Linked DNA regions of Homo sapiens: region 1 is linked to region 2. The links are contacts of gene promoters, found by promoter capture Hi-C in blood cells and fetal thymus (Javierre and others, 2016). All regions are on one chromosome and are shown on one strand. The core of a region is centred on a gene start or on the middle of the fragment in contact, and the rest is flanking DNA. Distances in the headings are between cores, read along the strand shown.

Region 1 (4,381 bases), core at 1,848-4,347, 3.9 Mb after region 2:
TAACATGAAAATAACTTAGAGTTGACTACATATTTATTTTTAGTAAAGGAATACTCAACAATGAACCCTGCTTAAAAAGACAACCCTACTATAGGAATAAGTAGTTGTCTCCTAAAAAAGTGTGGAGATATGAAATGTGTGGCAAATAAGTTTATTTTTTATTTATTGACCGAGAGGGTCTCACTGCTGTGCAGGTTGGCATAAAATGGCGCCTTCAAAGCTCACTGCATCCTGGAACTCCTGAGCCCAAATGATCCTCTGCCTCAGCCTCCCCAGTAGCTAGGACTATAGGCAAGTGCCTCTACACCTGGCTAATTTTTAAATTGTTTTGTATAGACAGGGTCTTGCTAGTTTTCCCAAGAGGGTCTTGAACTCCCGGCCTCAAGTGATCCTCTTGCCTTGGCTTCCTTCCAAAGCAGTGAGGTTAGAGGTGTGAGCCACTGTGCCCTGCCATGTTGACTTTTAAAAACCCTGTAATAACTTCCAATTGTCCTCAAGAAAAAGTTCAATTCTTTTTTTTTTTTTTGAGATGGAGCCTTGCTCTGTCGCCCAGGCTAGAGTGCAGTGGTGCGATCTCACTGCAACCTCTGCCTCCCGGGTTCAAGCAATTCTTCTGTCTCAGCCTCCCGAGTAGGTGAGATTACAGGTGCCTGCTACCACACCCAGCTAATTTTTGTATTTTTAGCAGAGACGGGGGTTTCACCATGTTGGCCAGGCTGGTCTTGAACTCCTGACCTCGTGATCTGCTCGCCTCAGCCTCCCAAAGTGCTGGGATTACAGGCGTGAGCCACTGCGCCTGGCCAAAAGTTCAATTCTTTAACATGGCCCTACAAGGACTTTTGTGGACTCTGCTCCATTTTCCACTATCACTGTATTCTAACAATAAAAGCTGTTTGCCTAGAATGCTCTTTGACTATACACTGACTACCACTAGCAGCAATACTACTTTTTTTTCGAGATGGAGTCTCGCTCTGTCGCCCAGGCTGGCGTGCAATGACGAGATCTCGGCTCACTGCAACCTCTGCTTCCCAGGTTCAAGTGATTCTTATGTCTCAGCCTCCCCAGTAGCTGGGATCACAGGCGCTCGCCACCACGCCCAGTAATTTTTTTGTATTTTTGTAGAGACGGTGTTTTACCAGGTTGGCCAGACTGGTCTCGAACTCCTGATCTCAGGTGATCCACCCGCCTTGGCCTCCCAAAGTGCTGGGATTACAGGCGTGAGCCACTGCGCCTGGCCAATACTATTAATAATAGTTACAACCTACCGAATTCTTATTAGGCATGGGACAGTTTATATACATTATTAGTTATACTTTATGAAGTAGGTACTATTCTTAATCCAGGTGTACAGACAAGGCACAGAGAAATGAAGCAATTAACTGAGAGGAACACAGCTATTAAAGTGTAGGCACTTTAATCTGTTTCAATCCAGATCTGTCTGAATTCAATGATGTTCCCAAACTTGGAACATGAAAATATCAACTTTCTCCAAGAAGTCTGACATGTTTAATATCCTCTAATAGCAAATGTGATAAGGTTAGCACTTAAGACACTGGTTTACAACGGACCTGTGTACTTGATGCCTCCCCAACCGGAAGATAAGCCATCTGAACTCACTTAAGGCGGCATGTTCACTTTTGCTTCCCCAGCTCCACAGTTAAGTGTACCACAGTTTCTGGTACACGTAATGCGTGTTAATAAAGATTTGTTGAATAATCAAATAAGCGAAACTGCTTTTAAACAGAAAGCCATAATACAATGTTATTACCTTCGAATTTGGCTAGAGAACATCACCAAGCTTACCAGTTTGTGATCTAGACTCCACTTTTCCCCATTTTTTTCAGTGTGCTACTTTTGCTTATATCCATTCTTCTGTGACTTTGTTTGCCACAATTCCTTAAATACTTCCACCCCTCCTTTTCATAACAGCGATCTGCCGTTTGTGAACCTCTTTTACAGAGAAAAACTAGAATGTTACTTTTCCTTTCATAGCAATTCTTTAAAATTTCTGAAAGCCTTTAAAAGGGTATTAGCGCAAACATCAGAGATCGCTGAGGTTAAAACTATCTTTTAAAAATGAATTTCACCGTCTCAAAAAAAATAAAAATGAATTTCAAATCAAGGCTAGGCTGATTGGAGAAAAGCAACCTAGTATATTTATAAAGGTCTTCCAGTGCTGTCTAAGCAGTGTTGTCCCAGGTGGCATCCTATTTTTCATAATTTACCGAAGGCCCTTGGTAATATAAATACAGAGAATAACAGGTGCTGCACTGAGCAGGGGGTCTGTCTAAATCAACCTTTTTGGCTCCATTTTTTGACAAAGGGCCAAGAGGTTAGCGTAATCGGTCCAGTAGTTCTCATTACCTTCGAGGGGAAGGGGAAAGAGGAGAGGGGCGAAGAAAGGAAACGGGGAGAGGAAGTGTGGCAAATAGAAGATATTCTTCAGGTAGAGCCAGGGCTCGGGCCGCGTCCCCAGGTGGCCCCTCCAAACGACCGTTTACCTTGTCAATTTTCTCTTTTCAATGAAAAAAAAAAAAAAGACATCTGGCTTTTTAAGTAAGAGAATATACAAATAAGGAAGGTATCAGGTCTCGTGAGAATTCGGCGCCAGATCCGCGTCCGGAACCCCACCGAGAGCCGCCGGTCCAACCGCCGATAGCTCGCGGATGCCCCCGGGGGCCCGACGCCGGCCAGGCTTCCCCTAGCGCTCCCGCTACCCATAAGCCCTCGCGTCTCAGCGCGCACGCGCAGCGGCGACGGCCGTCTCAGGAAGAGGAAAATGGAATAAACAACTCGGAGGAACCAGAGCGCGAGAGAGCGAGTGGAGGCAGAATTTAAAAATAAACCGGCCCCTCCGCCTTCCCCACCCGCTTGCCGCTGCCGCTCCCTCTTCCCCTGCCCGCGCCCTCGAAGTCCCCGTCTGGGCCCGCGCGCTCACCCCGTCGTCCCGCGCGGCCCCTTTAAGAAAAGAGAACGAGAGAGTGAGTGAGAGAATCCCAACTCTCCCCCTACCCTCCCTCCTTCTACCCCCTCCTCCCTCCCCTCTCCCCTCCCCCTTCTCCCCGGGCGGCTCCGGCTCCCGCAGCGGGACAGACCCACCCGCCCAGGCTTTTATCCGGCACCGGCAGCGTCTTCCTTTCCTCCCCCGTCTATGGTGGTGGCGGCGGCGGCTCCTCGGGCGGCGGCGGAAGACGAGGCTGCGGCGTTGCCATGAACAGTGGCGGCGGCCTCCCGCCCCCCTCGGCCGCCGCCTCCCCTTCCTCCTCCTCGCTGGCGGCGGCGGTGGCGGTGGTGGCCCCGCCGGGGGTCGGGGGTGTCCCCGGCGGGGCGGCGGTAGGAGTGAAGCTGAAGTACTGCCGCTACTACGCTAAGGATAAGACTTGCTTCTACGGGGAGGAGTGTCAGTTCCTGCATGAGGACCCTGCCGCCGGGGCTGCCCCGGGCCTCGGCCTCCATAGCAACAGCGTCCCCCTGGCTCTGGCTGGTGCACCCGTGGCCGGCTTTCCGCCGGGAGCCGTCGCGGGCGGGGGAGCTGGGCCGCCCCCCGGGCCCAAGAAGCCGGACCTGGGGGACCCGGGGACCGGAGCCGCAGCCGGCGGAGGAGGCAGTAGCGGGGGACTCGATGGACCGCGGCTGGCAAGTGAGTGTTTTTCGGGCGGGGCGGGCCGCGGCGGCGGAGGGCAGGCCTGGGCCGGATGAGGCCCTGCTGCCGACGGGAGCTGAGCACGGCCCGCGGGCTCCCCCCCTCACCTCCCAAGGCGGTCTGAGAGGCCTAGGCCGGGCCTGAGCCCTCCTTCCTTCTTCCTGCTTCCCCTCCCCACTGCCTTCGGCAAGTCGGAGAGCGCGGGGAGGTTGGGTTCCCGGGAACGTGGGTGGGAGGACTGGGGTGATGTGAAGGGGGGGCGGGGAGGAAGGGGGATGGGCTGTGGCGTGCGGAGTGTGAGAAAGGGGGTGTCGTTTCCGGGGGGTGTGGAAAGGGGCTGGGTTTGCAGGCACATGTGTTTTGCGTGTCCTTGTGGAGTGGCGTCTGCAGAGTGTTGAGGTTCCCTAGTGGGGAGGGGTGTGTTTGTGTGTGTGTGTGTGTGTGTGTGTGTGTGTGTGTGTAGGGGGCGGGAGGTGAGGGGCGGGCTTAAGGCTTCGTGGAGTAGGTTGAAAGAACGGAAAAAGTTTGTAGAAGGCTTGCGGGAGAAAGGTTTTGCAGGCAGGAAATGCTTTCTAAGGATTAGGAGGGAGCGGACTGTCGCGTTCAAAGTGTGCTCAGGTTTAATCGAGAGTTTAGAGTAGGGATTTCACAAAGACGCATTTCATCTGAGTTTCCCTGAAAGCTAGAATAAGTTTGCTGGTGTCAGCTGGGATCCTGTCTTCTATAGCTTTGTATCAA
Region 2 (4,484 bases), core at 552-3,051:
ACAGCCTTTCCCTGCTTTCTGTAACACTGGTTTTTGTTGTTATGTTAAAAATGTTTTAATTTTAGCGTTCTTTTGTCGAAAAGCAACAAAACCTAACTCTGGCTGTCTTAAGCAAAAAGGGAATTTATTGGAAGGGGGCCAGGTGTGCCCAGAATTGATGGGATGGCTGGGGAACCAGGCTAGGGAAGGGATGGCATCCAGGCTCACTCCTGGGAGTGGAGGAGCCACCGGAAGGTGTGTGATGGGAGACTGGCCATGGCACTGTCCCAGGAGCTAGTGAGGTATCCAGTGAGCACTTTATCTGGGTATCCAGTGAGCGCTTTGAAAATACAAAACATTTAATTAAAGACCCTATCTTGAAGAAGTGTATACTTATTTGGGGAGGAGTTATAATAAGGAGTTAACTTATTAGGAGTTAGTGACTGTCTTTCTGTCACTCACCCAGGGGTTCAGGTCCCAGGATGGAAGATTCAGCTGTCCGAGCTTAGGTGATATGTCCACCACCTGGTGGTACTGGAACAGGAAGAAGGGTGGGGTGTCTGTCTCCAGGGACCCTTGCCTTCTATATGTGAAGACAGGCCAAGTAAGTATTTAACAGAGCAGACAGTACTATAAAGAAAAATAAAACAGGATAGAGAGCATTCATTTCCAAAGAGTGTTATTCTAATGACACTCTAATGAACAGGATGCACCTGTTCCATGAACCCTCTCTCTCTTCCCTAGAAGGAGACACCCAGATCCTCATCAGTGGCAGCAGACACCTCCAAGTCTAGGACCTCTTAGGATAACTAGTCCTCCAGTTCCATGCAGTGCCTCTTCAGCGTTGATTAACTAGAGGCAGATTTAAGCAACACATCCCTACCAGAATGGCAAGGCAGGGAAAGGAAGGAAATAGAGAATTTGGGATGCTGTGGAGAATAAAACGTCATGCAAAGTTTACATTTCAGCATTTGAACAGATTCCATAAGTCAATATGTAGGATGCACCAAGGCACCAGTGACGGCCCTGCAGAAGATGACTTTGGGTAATGTGAGGAGTAGGAGCAGGTGGGGGAGATAGCCTCCTCTCCAAGGAGGTGACGCTGGGGACAGGTGAGTAGGAGGCAGTGAGGCAGAGATCCGAGGGAGGAGAAGTCCTAGCCGAAGGAGCACCAGAAGCCCAAAGACAGGCAGGAAACATGATGTGTCTGAGGTTCAGCAAGGAGGCCACAGTGACAGGAGCTCAGGGAGCAAGAGGCAGACGAGGATGTTGCAGGCTGGGAGGTGGGCTGAGGCTGGAAAGGGCTCTGCAGGTCATGAGGAGGCTGAGCTTGTTCTAAGTGTGGTGTGAAGCCATTGGCAGCAGGAGCATATTATGTTCCGGTTTATGCTTAGAGAGGGAGGGCAGTTTGTGGGGGGAAAGGAAGAGGAATGGAGATTGATTTGAAGGCGATTGCATTAGTCCATTTGAGAAATATGGTAGCAGTGACCACAAAAGCCATCCCCATTTTCCGTGGGTGCTCATTTTCCCAGTGGTACGAAGAGGCAAAAATGGCCAGCCTTGGTTCTGATTCACTGTGGCCAGGACTGTGAACTCTGGAGGAAGTACTTCTCCCTTGGGCACTAAATTCAGTTTCAACAGAGCAGAGTTCCTAGGTGGGAAGAAAACATTTTGCAAGTATATTATTAAGTAATCCTAAGAAGCCGCTTCTATGTTTACCCTTGGTTTCCGGCCCTGCATCTTCTGCTGTGGGCCAGCCTCTCCAAATTAGTCACTGCTTCAGAGCTTGCGTCCCATCCAGGGCAGTATGGCAACTTCTGGGTGTGTCTCCCAGCTGCCTCTGTAACTTCATTTTTATTTGGTTGTTATTGGGTGTGATGGGGTCATGTGCTTCCTTCTCTGTGACGTTCTGGGCCTGGATGGCGTGTGAGATGCTGCGACAGGATAGGGGCCTTCTAGAGGATCCACAGAGTGCAGGAAAACAAATCCAAGCCCAGCATAAGTGGCCCTTCCAGTAGGGACAAATCACCACCCCCTCTATTATGAAAAGGCCCCACTGCAATCAGCTTTCCGCAAGGGGCTGTCTGGTTCCTGCGGGGAACCGTATCATCAGCTTTGTTGAGGGGAAGGCCCAGACTTCCTGTGGTTTAGCCCAGGCTTGGCATCCATTTTTGCCACCATGGCCTTTTTCTTGCTTGCTTCTTTTTTTTTTTCCTTTTTATGAACCCACTGAGCAAGTATCAAGATGACTAGGAAGGAAGACTGGCATCTAGCTGCACATTGGGACAGCATGTCCACATGATGATTGATTAGCCTCTCTTGCAATAAGGATTCATGTAGGATGGACATCATCTCATGCTCTGCGGGTATTCTGAGGTAGCCAGTTATACTCCTTCCCCAAACCCATCCTCAGCCCATCTTGTTCTTTCCACATTCCTCCAGGCCATTCAGCCAGGCCATTAGCTCCTAACCAGGAGTGCGCACGAGCTAAATCCTTGCCTTGCCAAAGCCATCTCTCCTACTCAGAAAGGCTTGGGAAGAGTATTGCTTACATTTGCCGCCGGGAGTTTCCCTGTCCTGAGGACACAGTCACCAGGCTGATGGTAGGAGTTCTCTTTGAGAAGCTAGGAAGAAGACTTGTAGTAGGATGCCTACCCTGAGGCTCCCTGGCTCTGCTCCATCAAGAGGCCTGAGTCTGGGAGTTGAGTGAGGGCCCTCCCTTGTCTTCTCTGTCATGGTGGCTCAGGTCGGGCTCTGCTTGCCAGCCCTGGAGAGTTCCTCCTACACAATGTTGTGGTACCTTTGTGGAATCACTCATCTGTTTTGTTCCTGGGGACCCCGAGATCAGTTAACAGCACAACCAGAGATTTCACAGGTCAAACCATTCAGATGACCAAGCTGGCCCTGCTGTGTGGTATAGTAACTATGCCCACCTTTTTCCCATGACAGATGTCCCACCCCCATGGAGGACCAGGTTTGCATTGCAGTGGAACCATCTCTCAGCAGCATCTCTGGCCTAGAGAGATTAGCAGTACATTAATTATAAAAGCTGCTGTCACATGGGAGATGCAGCCCAAGGGGTGGTGAGACTCACATGATAGACCATCTCTAGCATTTCCATCCCAGTCCTGGAACTCCTTCCTTTCTATGCACTGAGGGTTTTAGGTTTATATACCAACGAAGTGCTAGAATGGCATCCAGCTCAGTAAGCCCACAAATTGAGCTCAGCAAACCAGCTGTAAAAGCATCATTTTGAGACACGTTGGGGAGATTTTCAGATGAACTGAATATTTGGCAACATGAAGGAATTATTTTTAATTTTGTTAGTTGGGATAAGATAGTGCAGTTATTTTTAAGTCCTTGTTTGTTATACACAGATAGTGAAATACTTTCTGCATAAAATATGATATGTGAGATTTGTTTTAAAATACTCCAAAAAAGTTGGTGGGAAATAGTTGAAACAATATTGGCAAAAGACTGATAATCGTGGGTTCATGGTATTATCTGCTTTTGTGTGTATTTGAAATTTTCTGTAGTATCAACTTTTAAATAATAATGAAAGTATATTTCTCCTCCCTGGTCAAGTATTCTCAAAATCTTGATAACCAAAGGTTGGTAAATGGATATAAAAATAGAGCTAGACAGGAAGAATAAGTCCTACTGTGCCACAGTTAATGACAATGTATTGTATAGTTCAAAATAGCTAGAAGAGAGGATTCAAATGTTCTTAATACAAATAAATGATAAGTGCTTGGGGTGATGATATGCTAATTACCCTGATTTGCTCATTCCACATTGTATACATATATTGAAATATCACACTGTACCCCATAAATATTGTACAATTATTATGTGAGTTTAAAATAATAATATAAAAAACTCTCCAAATTAAGTAGTATCCACAACTAAATTTTTCTCAAAATATAGAAAATTGAACATTGCATTTAATTTTTTTTTTTTTAAAGAAATGAAGGCAGAGTCTTTCTAGGTGAATGGAGCCCTCCCTTCCGAGAACTTGGCAGCGCCGTGCTGTGCTCTTCCTTTCTCTCACCACTTTTCTCTGGCCCTGTTTGTAGCACCTGTCTTACCTCTTGCCAGCCACACAGCCTGCGAAGGCAGGTCATGTGGGACAGGCCTGAGTCATGTTTGTAGGCTACTGGGTGTGTTATTTGGGATAATAGAGTTGGGATAATGAATTTCAGTGGCACTTATTGGAGCCTTATCGGAGGGAAGAGTGACAACCTGTAAACACCACTGCATTGTTGGGGATGGTGTTTGTGGCTTCACCTTCCTTGGGTTTCAGGAAGGATGCCCACACTGCTAGAAGATTTTCCTGGGGAATTATCTTTGCCGCCTTTGCTTTGCTTTCAGTGAAGCTTTTCTCTTTCATTTGAGACAACTTACTCCATCACAGCCTACCTAAGCTCCTAATTTTTTTGTACTTAACATTGGGTTCCAACCATACTTCTTCCTTTAACCGGTCTGTTTATGTTGATCAGAAGTCA

What was found. Contacts are between HindIII fragments. The CHiCAGO score rates a contact against its expected background, and 5 or more counts as called.
Region 1: a contact is called between the fragment with the promoter of PAN3 here and the fragment with the promoter of SPATA13-AS1 in region 2, in 1 of 17 cell types (non-activated CD4 T cells). The highest score is 6.4, in non-activated CD4 T cells.

What each region holds. Positions count from the first base shown.
Region 1 is chr13:28,135,448-28,139,828 of GRCh38, forward strand. PAN3 (poly(A) specific ribonuclease subunit PAN3) reads left to right here and starts at 3,098. Exons shown (of 19, transcript NM_175854.8): 1 at 3,098-3,640. The coding sequence starts at 3,211. PAN3-AS1 (PAN3 antisense RNA 1) reads right to left here and starts at 3,727. Exons shown (of 2, transcript NR_029383.1): 1 at 3,100-3,727; 2 at 1,396-2,958. RefSeq lists silencers at 2,943-3,052, 3,243-3,322, 3,363-3,762 and an enhancer at 3,845-4,139. The HindIII fragment of the contact is 2,991 bases long and covers 1,797-4,381 here.
Region 2 is chr13:24,252,638-24,257,121 of GRCh38, forward strand. SPATA13-AS1 (SPATA13 antisense RNA 1) reads right to left here and starts at 1,802. Exons shown (of 3, transcript NR_046531.1): 1 at 1,699-1,802; 2 at 442-562; 3 at 112-319. The region is part of intron 4 of SPATA13 (spermatogenesis associated 13); the gene reads left to right. The HindIII fragment of the contact is 5,552 bases long and covers 1-4,353 here.